2 separate regions of the Homo sapiens genome follow, and region 1 is linked to region 2. The links are contacts of gene promoters, found by promoter capture Hi-C in human tissues and cell types (Jung and others, 2019). All regions are on one chromosome and are shown on one strand. Each heading gives the region's core, a stretch centred on a gene start or on the middle of the fragment in contact. The rest is flanking DNA. Distances are from core to core; before and after follow the strand shown.

Evidence for each region. Contacts are between HindIII fragments. The study calls those that stand out against the background at their distance.
Region 1: a fragment that was not itself captured here is called in contact with the fragment with the promoter of BICD2 in region 2 in 1 of the 25 tissues and cell types used here (lymphoblastoid cells).

Annotation. Positions count from the first base shown.
Region 1 is chr9:92,170,765-92,176,358 of GRCh38, reverse strand. It overlaps the pseudogene BEND3P2. Among named protein-coding and RNA genes, the nearest start is that of LINC00475, 32 kb to the right of the region's middle. RefSeq lists a silencer at 2,779-2,878. The HindIII fragment of the contact is 6,217 bases long and covers 589-5,594 here.
Region 2 is chr9:92,762,547-92,767,790 of GRCh38, reverse strand. It overlaps BICD2 (BICD cargo adaptor 2), which reads left to right and starts at 2,958. Exons shown (of 7, transcript NM_001003800.2): 1 at 2,958-3,286. The coding sequence starts at 3,047. RefSeq lists silencers at 1,366-1,415, 2,268-3,007 and an enhancer at 4,831-4,990. The HindIII fragment of the contact is 19,809 bases long and covers 1-5,244 here.

The sequences.
Region 1 (5,594 bases), core at 2,448-4,947, 590 kb after region 2:
TTCCCCAAGTCTGCAGGCACTTGACCCACTGCCCATCTCCAAAGCCCCCAATCCTGCATAAACATGCTCCCTCCTGTCTAAGGCCCTTGGCCAACCCTGCCCCAAGAAGTCTGTACTCCTCCAGCTGGTAGAGCCTGGTATTACCTTATCTACTTAGCTGATGCAGGATTTAGTGCCCCAGCAATAAGCCTCAAAATAGTGTTCTGGGCCATCCTTCCTGCAAGCCTGCTGGACACAGCCCTGTGCAGCCAGCAGGACTCCTAGAGGCCTCTCAGCACAGCCTACCCCCAGCCTTCAGAGACCACGGGAAAACGGGAGAGCTCCCATTTAGCACATGTCTGTATGGACAAGGCGCCATCCAAAAGTTTCAGTGCACATTGTCCCCAGTCTTGGTATTGGCCACATTTCCTGTACCCTCACAGGCAAGGGGCACAGATAGACTCACATGCATGTCAACACTAGGACCTCACTGGCTTAAACCCTCTACTACTCATGCAGGAATTCTCACCCCAAAATAATATTGTGAGGCCTGAAGAAAGTGTCTTCCCAGTATCCACTCCTGTAGGGGTATTTCCAGCAGTCCCTGCCTCTGACCAGAGCTCCACCACTGAGGTACTGCCATGCCTAGTAATATGTCCACTACTAGTGTCCAGCCTTAGAGCTCAGCGGTCTCCACAGAAAGTGTTCCCTCCCCTGGTGGTAAGCTCAGTTATGGGGTCTCAGAGCAGGGCTGCTCAGGACTCTGAGAGGTCAGTGAGTTACCAAGACAGCATGTGCTCCACGCATGTTCTCCAGAAGGTCAGGGGAGCTTGGGCAGTTCTGTTTAGAGTATTAGCCACTCCACTGTCCCCAGAGCCACTATTCTCCTTTGTGGCAGCCACAGGCTGGCTGTGTCCTGAGGGCCTGCCTGTTATACACCTTATGCCAGGGGTTAGGTGATTTCCTGTCCTCCTGGATGCTCTCAGGCCTCTAAACCAAAGGGTGGGGATACATACCTAGTCCACGCGACAGATCAAACAAATCTCAGTTCCTGCACAGTTAGTTTCCCTGTTTCTTGAAACCAATGTAAGTGCTCAGTATCCTTATCCTGGTTTAGTTTATTTTTAAAGATAAACTGCAGCCTATTAGGGTTGAGTAGGTTTTTTTTTTTTTTAGATGGAGTCTCGCTCTGTCGCCCAGGCTGGAGTGCAGTGGCGCAATCTCCGCTCATCGCAAACTCCACCTCCCGGATTCACACCGTTCTACTGCCTCATTCTCCCGCCTCATTCTCCCGAGTAGCTGGGACTACAGGCACCCGCCACCATGCCCAGCTAATTTTTTAAATTTTTAGTAGAGACGGGGTTTCACCATGTTAGCCAGGATGGTCTCACTCTCCTGACCTCGTGATCCACCCGCCTCAGCCTCCCAAAGTGCTGGGAATACAGGCGTGAGCCACCACACCCGGCCAGGGTTGAGTGGCTTTTTAAAGATATCATAGGTAGTATGTAGTGGAACAGAAATTCAAACTGAGATCTCTCTTGAGAGAGCTCAATCACTGTTCTTTCCACACCCACAGACTGCACCCAAGATGCCTTTTATCCAAGCCTCAGACACCTGAGGGAGGCTTACTCTGACCTGTCCCCAAAGTGAGCCTCAGATATCCACTCCTGAAGAGAGAGACGAGTAGGGCATGGAGGGCCCTAGAGTCATCATCAGGGCCCCCCTGTTCTCCCAGATGGTGCACGGGCATGGGCTGCTGCTTTTGTTGCCAAAGTCATCCCCAGACAAGCTATGGGAGTGAAATGAAATGAACCAAGATCAATTAAAGACTTCCAGTTTCCAGTCTGGAGTATAAGAAGCTTGGAAGTCATCACTCCCATTCTCAAAACAAGAAAAAAAAAAGCTGAACAAACTGAAAGTCAACAACTCTTCTTAGATCTGTCAGAGAATTGAGGTCACAGGGCAGATTACTACCCTCAAAACTGGAGACAGGCAGATACAGAGAATCACGGTTAATCTGAAGGGAAGCTCAGATGTAAAAGCTGGCTATTGGAGCCAATCCCAGGGTAGAAAAACCTAAACTGTAATTGACAAAGTGCTGAGGGTTCAATGTGGATGAGCTTGACAGTTAAAAACTCCATGTCCAGTCTTAGGAGAGCCCCAACTTTCAGGAGTTTTACCTTCAGTAGCCTTACCAGATTCTCAGGGTGTAGATCAGAGAAAAACCCCCTCCTGATTTTGGCAGGACGATGGGAAAAGTAACCATTTTGAAATAAAAGCAGAACATTAGTTCTACTTTGCAAAAACCTATCCTTAACAGAAAATATTTTTACCAGAGCCTAATGTATTGGGGTTTTATCAGAGTCTAACTGAGTTGCGGAAAGAGAAGTGTCAAACTCCAGTTCCCTGTGCCTTCCTGTCCCACCAGGGACACGGGCTACTGAGAAGCACATGTGCAGGTCACAGCCTAGGAGCATAGGCTCACTGTGCACTGTGCCTGGAACCTAATTACAGGATTATCGAACATTTCCTCTCCCACATAAGTGCCTCCTCACCACATCAGTAGGACTTTTGTATAATAAGGGAATTATAATGGAAGGAATTGACTGTCTCAGCACTTATTTAAGAAGGAGTCTCTAGGGAAACTCAAAGACAAGCGGGGAGATACTAACAAGGACACCTGAGTACATTTTGCCTCTGACACCTACAGCAACACCAAACAGTGAAGACAGTCTAACTACCAGCCAGATAAACACAAGAGCCTTACACAAAAGACCTCTTTACCTCTGTTCCTTTTGCCCAGTGTATCATGTCTCACTTTCAACCAAAAAAAGGGAACTAAAAGGTACTAAAAGTGAGCACACTAAAAGTGTACTAAAAAGTCTGCAGATGAGCCACAGCTGCGTAGGGTCCAGCTGCTTCTTGTTGCAAGCCCGGGAATGATTGTACTGCAGCGGGAGGTTCTTGGCAGTGGAGGAGCCCTGCAGCCAAGTTGCCCACGGAGAGGCTCTGCTGCATGATCTCGCGCACCTCCTTGTCGGACAGCAGGTAGGGAGAGGGCACCGGGAAGCTGGGCGAGGGACCACCACCTTGTCCAAGGGGATCTTGCAAAAGTCCTTCCTGCTCCTCTTGGGGGCAGCGGGGGACCCTCAAACTCCTCCTCAAACCTCTCAGGGTTGATTGCATAGCTCCTCATGTCTCTGCACTGGGGGCCAGCACGTGGACCTTGCACTGCTGCTGGTAGGAGCGCCTCTGCTCGTGTCCCGGCGCAGGTTGCCCATGAACTCCAGGGTCCAGAAGCGGTCGTTTTTGGCATGGAGGTAGAGCAGACACACATACTGGCGAATGAGCTTGATGCAGGACAGGTCCAGCTGCTTCTTGCCCAGGGAACCGCTGGAGCTGTACTGCTTGTGCAGGTTCTCATGGGTGAAGAGCTTGGGGAACAGGGGCACCAGCAGGTGCAAGGCGAAGTTGCCAATGGACAGGCTGCTCTCATAGATGCTGTGCAGATGCTCCTTGCTGAGCAGGCAGTCGGTGCCAGGCACCTCCAAATTGGGCTGGGGGATCTCCAATTTGTCCAGGTTGATGAGTACCAGCCAGATCTTCTTGGAGCGGCGCTGCTCGCCCTTGGAGCTATCCTCCACCCTGATTACTGAGATGTCATCGGGAGGCTGGAGGAGTTGTAGCAGTCATCACGTGGGGGGCTCGTCTTCACTGCCCGCATCCAGCCTCAGGCCCTGGAGCTTGTCGTTGATGCGCTGGGCACACTGCTGCAGCCAGGCCTCCTCCTCCTGCATATGGGAGAAGTAGACCTCTGTGTAGTTGCAGATGATCTGCAGCCTCTGCGGCTCCAGCTCCTGCTTGCTGCCATCCCCATAGCAGCTGTAGTACTCGCCCAGCTTGCAGTGGTCAAAGAGCTCAGGGAAGAGCCAGTGGAGGAGGAAGACAGCATATTCGCTGGGCGAAGAGGCTTCATCCAGGAACTCGGTGAGGTCCTGCATGTCCACCACGTGGTCTGAGGCCATGGTGCTGCTCCGGTCCAGAGACAGGCCGTCCTCCTCGTCTTTGTGGTCCAGGAAGTGGCCGGGGTCCACTGCTCGGCCTCAAAGAAGCTGGCAGCCTGGCCACCGGGCTGGCTGTTCTCCATCTCCCTCTGGGCCCAGAAGTGGCTGAAGAAGTTATTCAGCTGGGGCAAGCACTCGGCCTGTCACACGGCCATGTCCTTCACCGAGGGGTAGTAGACCTCCACGTAGTTGTGGATGAGCTGCAGGTGCAGTGACTCCAACTTACGCTTGGCCTCAAAGCTACAGGCACTGCAGCCTCGGGAGAAGTCAACTGCAGCTGAAGAGCTTGGGGAAGAGCTGCACCAGTGGGCAGCCTGCCAAGACCCCACCCGACAGGCTCTGGTCCACCATCTGCTTGAGCTCTGCGGCCCATGAGCTGCTATGCGGTGGTGGGGGCAGCTGGAATTTGGCCACCATCTCAGTGGGGTTCACCTTCAGGGAGAGTATGTCCATTGTGCTGTGCAGCTGGGACCTGTTAGACTTGAGGGTGTTGAACATGTAGAATATCTTCTGGATCAGGAAGTAGATGTTAGGGTCACTGTTGGTGGCCACCCCAGTGCTGCCATAGTCCCACTTCTGTGGCTCATTCAGGAGCCTAAGTGACGAGGGTCTGTTGCTGGCATTTACCTTCTGGAAGAGCTCATATATGTTTAGCAGGTCCCCTGAGGGACGGTTCTTCTTCTCCATGAACTTGTGTGAGGTGCCATACATAGGCTTTTTGTAGTAAGGGGTGGTGGCATGGTTGCAGAGCTCCTCCTTGCCTGGCCACACAGAGCCTGAGCTCCTGCCCTGCTGGCCTGCTCTCCATTGCCTTGGCAGGGCTAGATTTTCTCAGGTTCCACATTCGTGCTAGGAGCACCTCTGGGATCAGCTGCCTCCTCTCTATGCTGGGGACGGACTCTGGCTGGCCATTGCTGACCAGTCAAGTCCTGGAGGGCAGTGAAGATGCTTTCCAGAGGGTGTTTCTCAGAAGTCCTGGAATTCATGGAGCTGCCTAGAGCAGCAACTTTGGCCTGTCTCCACTCTCACTTCTTAGAAGTTCTTCTACATCTTCACTGAATTCAGTTGAGTTCATCTTCTGTTCCAGTGGGACTCGAGTTCTGTACTTTACTGAGCAGCCTGAGCCAAGTTTAGGCACCCAGTGGTGGGGAGGGTATGGGGCCAGGGAGTGGGAGCAGTGCACAAAGGGCCTGGCCAGGGCGGCTGGGGGAGGCGCCGGGGGCGGCAGACAGCCAGGCACCGTGTATTTCCCCTCTCTTTGTGAGTGTCTGTGTGCTGCGCTCTCATGTGACATGACAGGACTCCATGTGACATTTCTGCACAGGGACACAGGAGCCCTTGCTGCAATGGAACTGCAAACCCTCCACCCACACCTCCGGCCCACCCCTCCCCCTCAGTGGGGCACACGAGGGCTATTTCCTTCTTATTTATTTATTTTTTATTCTTTTCTTCCTAGACTGCTCAGCAGAATAGAATAATATCATGTATATGTGGGTTTCAGAAATTTTAATTCTTTATTTCTAGGGTTCTTGCATATACTTGGGATGTATA
Region 2 (5,244 bases), core at 1,709-4,208:
GTAGTGACAGACCCTCTGCCCCCAGCACCTAGGAGAGTCCCTACCTGTAACAGAATGTTCCTGAAACCTTCCCTGGCCTCCCTTCCACCACCACCTGTTTCCAAGTTCAAAGCGCCATGGTCAGTCCCTGCGTGGGACTCCCATGGTCTTTCTCCCTCCCTCCTCAGACCTGCCCCACAGCAAGGTATGGCGGGGGGTGGGGAGGTTCGAGTCAGATCAGCCTGGATCAGGTGCAGGTGTTGCCCTGAGGCTGTGTGACCTTGGGCAAGTCACTGTGGGGCATCAGTCCCTCCCTTGCTAAGTACACACTCAAACAAGTCTTGTTCCTTCTTTACACTGGGAGCTCTCCCACTTACAGTTAACAATTTGCCCAGCCCAAGACAGTCCCAGGTAAGCCAGGAAGGTTGGTCTTCCTATTCCTACTACAACTGAACTCCTTAAAATTAGTTAATTTCACAAGCCAATCTATGACACATTCTCCTCAGACAAACAAAACACTAAAAAGAATCAGGGCTCCTTGGGGAAATGACTGATTTCAGGTCTGGGACATGGAGAGCACAAGATGATCTTGGAACAATTTGCATCAGACATCAAGGAAGTAATAACAATAATAACAAATTACGATGTTTTGAAGACATGGAGCCAGCTTGGAGGAGCTCCCACGGGCCAAATCTGCTACCATTTGAGCATCAAAGCAAGTAAGGAAAGTAATGGATTGTAACCCACGGAGTAAAATAAGAATCCATGGATCCATACTGCTAATGAATGAGAGAGAAGGGAATAGATGAGAAGGTATAGGTGCCTCACAGTACAAAGGCAACTCATAAATGGAGAAGGACTAATGGAAATAGAAAAGCAGCCAGTATGGCTGGTCGCGGTCGCTCACGCCTGTAATCTTAACACTTTGGGAGGCCGAGGCAGGCAGATCACGAGGTCAAGAGATCGAGACCATCCTGGCCAACATGGTGAAACCCACTCTCTACTAAAAAAAAAAAAAAAAAAAAAAAAATTAGCTGGGCATGGTGGCATGCGCCTGTAGTCCCAGCTACTCGGGAGGCTGAGGCAGAATCACTTGAACCCGGGAAGCAGAGGTTGCAGTGAGCCGAAATTGCATCTCTGCCCTCCAGCCTGGGGACAGAGCGAGACTCTGTCTCAAAAAAAAAAAAAAAAAAAAAAAAAAAAAAGCAGACAGTATGGTAATAATTATTTCAGGCAAGAAGTAGTCATGAATGCCAAAACCAGTGGGTCAAGGTTTGAGGAGTCATAGGCTATATCTATGGTTGCAAAGTCTTCACTCATGACACTAATTACCAAAGAAAAACCCAGCATCAATCAGAGAAATGCAAATCGACATCACATACCTCCCGGCTGGTGCTCTGAAAACTCAGCAACACCTCAGTGACAGTCCTGCCAGAAACGCATCACCTCATCACCCCATGAGCATATACCAGTGTGCACTGCACTCCTCAGAAAGGTCAATCAAAGGAGACTCAGGAAACCTGACGACTGAATGCAACTGGATCCTGGACCACAAAAACAATACTGAAACTCTCCAGTATGGTGTTGGGCCCTCGTGCAATTAGAGTGTGGACTGTGCATTAGATAGTGTCAGTACCCTGTGTGCTGTGATTTCTGCTGTCATGGCTTCTTTCTAATTTGGTCTTGAGGGAGAGTGACCATAAGCCAAGATAGCCACTCTCTAGGAGAACCGAATGGGTGTGGGGTTCAGGTGAGATACAATGAGAAAGTAAAATTAAAAGGTACAAAACAGAAGGAATTTATTATTCTTAGGTTCCGGAGAGGTTAGGGATGCCTAAGAGAGGCGGACAAGCAGATGGAGAGGGGCAGTGAGAGACGGTGGGAAGGAAGGGACTATGGCTGTGCTAGGGTCCATGGAAATCATCCTTTAGGATTTCCCTTGGGGCCTGTGGACTGGCTAAAGAAAATACGAGGGAAGGGTGAACTCATCTGCACTGATACTGGCCATTAGGTGCTATGGCGGTCAGCGGCTGTGGGGTGTGTTGCGCTTTAGGTCAATGAGATAAAGAATAAACGAGTTATCTCACACACCACCATATACGGAGAAGTGTTACCTACGCCAAGGCGAAGGGTACGACTGGCTTTCAAACAACTTAAGTCAGGCCTAAAAATAGATGCGGAGACAACAATTATATTTACCACGTTTATGACCCTGTATTAATGGAAATGTCTTTATTCCCAAGAAATAGACCTTGAAGGACTGAGGGGCGGTGCTGAGGTTCCCGCTGGCCCCTGGGCGCCCCCTGCTGGCCCGTCCTCCTCCCGCCCCCAGACGTCTGCACAGAGCATGCGTCACACCGTCCACGGGTTTCCAGCAGCAGCCGTTCACCCGCGCTCTCGGATGCGCTTCTAGCTCGTGGCCTCCCGGGCTCTGTCCGCGTTGTTCGTCCCACGGTCGGGAGCCCAGTCCTGCCGCCCCGCACCCGCCTCCCCCTGGGGGTTCTCCCGGCAGCCGTCTTGCCACCCCGCGTGGCCGCCGGCTGCCAGAGGCACAGGGGAGCGCGAGGCCCGGCGACCGAGCAGTGTCCCCGGCTCTGAGTGTGGGGAAGGCCGCGGGGCCGCGCCCACTCGACCGCCGTCCAGGGGACTGCAAGGCGCCGGTACATCCGGCTCGACGCTGGCGGCGCAGGCCAATCACGGACGGGGACGGGTGGGCGCGGGGCTGGACGGGTTTTGTAGTCGGTGCGCTAGCGGGACTACTGTCCCCACAGCCCCCTGGGCCACATTGGCGTCAGTGGCTGCGCCCGAGGGCCCGCCCCTCACAGAGCATGGGCCAATCATAGCCGGGGGCCGGGCGGGCGCCGGGCATGATGGACCTTGTGGTCGGAGCGCAGGCAGGACTCCAGCCCCCAGCGGGCCCCGCGCGCCGGAGGGGAGGAGCCGTGCGGCGGCGCGGGCGGGCGGGCGGCCGTCGGGGCAGGGCGGCGGCGGCGGCGGCAGCGGCGGCGGCTGAGGAGGGCCCGGCCTGCGAGAGCCTCAGTGGGAGCCGGCTCAGCCCTCGGCCACCATGTCGGCGCCGTCGGAGGAGGAGGAGTACGCGCGGCTGGTGATGGAGGCGCAGCCGGAGTGGCTGCGCGCCGAGGTGAAGCGGCTGTCCCACGAGCTGGCCGAGACCACGCGTGAGAAGATCCAGGCGGCCGAGTACGGGCTGGCGGTGCTCGAGGAGAAGCACCAGCTCAAGCTGCAGTTCGAGGAGCTCGAGGTGGACTATGAGGCTATCCGCAGCGAGATGGAGCAGCTCAAGGAGGTGAGCCGAGCCGCCCTGCCCTGCGACCCCCGCCCGGCGCCGGGGCCTGTGGGCGTCGTCCCTGGCACCAGGGCGGCCAAGGTCAGCTTGCCAAGCGGGGGCCGGCAGGGGTGGGCCGCCGGGGCGGAGGGGGCACGGGCAGTATGTGGGAGTGGGCCCGGCCTTGGCTAGCAGGCCGGTGCCGCGGCCGTTGCAGACGCCGCTAATGCAGGGGTCCGGGCGCCTTGTCGCCTCCTGCAGCTGCCCGCCTGCTTCTGTGCGGACCTGGGCGGCCCCGGCGGGGCGGGGCTTCGTAAGGGCTGATGCTTTGCGGTGGTCGCTGTTCCGGGTGTGTCTGAGTGTGGGGTGGGGTTGGGAGGGCAGTGGCTGAGCCGGGAGCTGAGGCCACGGATGCTGGTGACCCGCTGGGAGAGGCCGAGGGTGGGCCTGGGTCTGGGTGGCTGCGGCTCTGTCACCTTCAGAGAAAGCACTTCCCCTCTCTGGGCGCAGCTACTTTCGGAGCGTTTCTGCTTCTTTCATGAGTGCCTCCGAGGTGGGGAAAGGTCGTGGACAGCGGCCTAAGTGAGTAGGGGCTCGGGGTTGCACGTGGAGGTTGCCCCTGGCATGGGTCCCCCAGTACCCTTGCCCCAGGCCCAGCGCTGTGTCCTCATGGCCGGGATTGCGCTCCCACCAGCTAGCATGACTTCCCTGGCCCACTTCCTGTCCAGCCCCGCTTCTCGGGCCCTTCCCCTCGCTGTGGCTTGCTGTGTTCCTCTTGGACGGAGACCTCAGTGGTCTGTGTCATTCCCACTGGGGGGAGAGTAGGTTAGACCACCAGGCTGGTCGAGGGTCTCCAGGCGGCAGGGCAGCGGGAGTCTTGGACAGTCCTTCCCCAGCTTCTCTTCTCCCGTTCCCTGACTCCATAGCGTTGTTTGCAGGAATTGCTTTCTGGGAGGATACACCAGGGTTTGGATCCAGGCTGTGCCCCTTGCTAGTGATGTGGCTTTGGGTAGAGGCCCTCCGTGAGTCTTAGTTTCCCCCTCTGCAAAATGGGAGTGCAGTACTGCGTGCCCAGAAAGGATTGTTGTGAGGGTCATGTATTTGGAAAGGACTGGTGTGCGGTCAGGAGTATAGCTTGGTGGTGTGCTCCCTTCCCCCACTTGAGTGTGTCCTGGTGAGCCCTTGGCTCTTGGTTTCCAGGCTTATCACCTGGCACCTCTGCTCCCAGTCAGCCCAGACAGGTGCCTAAATCATTTGCAGCCTTCCTTGCCTCCCCCGTGTCTGAGGAGACCCGTCTGTGGAGAGCAGAGAATGAATCCAAGCAGATGCTTGGATGTCTGGGCAGAGCAGGTGCTCAGTTAGTACCAGTCAATGGCTGACCCTGGGCCAGCAGGAGCTGGGTCCTCCCCCATCGCCCTCAGGACTCGATTCTGTTGTCTGTCAGCAGGTATTGGCACCTTCTGCAATGCATGCTCCAGTGGCGCTGGAGCTACAAGAGGGGTGAGATGCAGCTGCTCTTGCAAGAGTCCCCATCTTAGGGTGGGGCGTGTGATAGGGAGGCAGGGGGCTCTGAGAATATGGAGTGGGAGTGGACTCGGCCAGTTTCTGGTCTCCTGTAGCGGGGCTCACCCTCTCCAGCAGGCAGCACTATCTGTTAGGGCGCTTTTCCCTCTGCACACAGTGAAGCAGCCCTCTTCCTCCTACCAAGTGCATCGTGAGCCGCTCCTGGGCAGCCTCTACAGTCCCTGTCTCTGTCCACAGCTTGGGTTTGGCAGTGTCCTCTGTGAGAAGGAATTGTCGCTGACTTAACTTGTCCCCGCTTTGGTGCCCTTCATTTGTCAGGTCTTTGCTATTCTGACACAAACGTTTTGGCACAGTGAAGAATCTTGGCATTTTCGTGGCATGTATCTGGAGGGTGAGTCCCTAGCAGAATCAGGAAGAGGGTATACCTGTTTCTGTGGGTACTCTTTAGGCGTCTG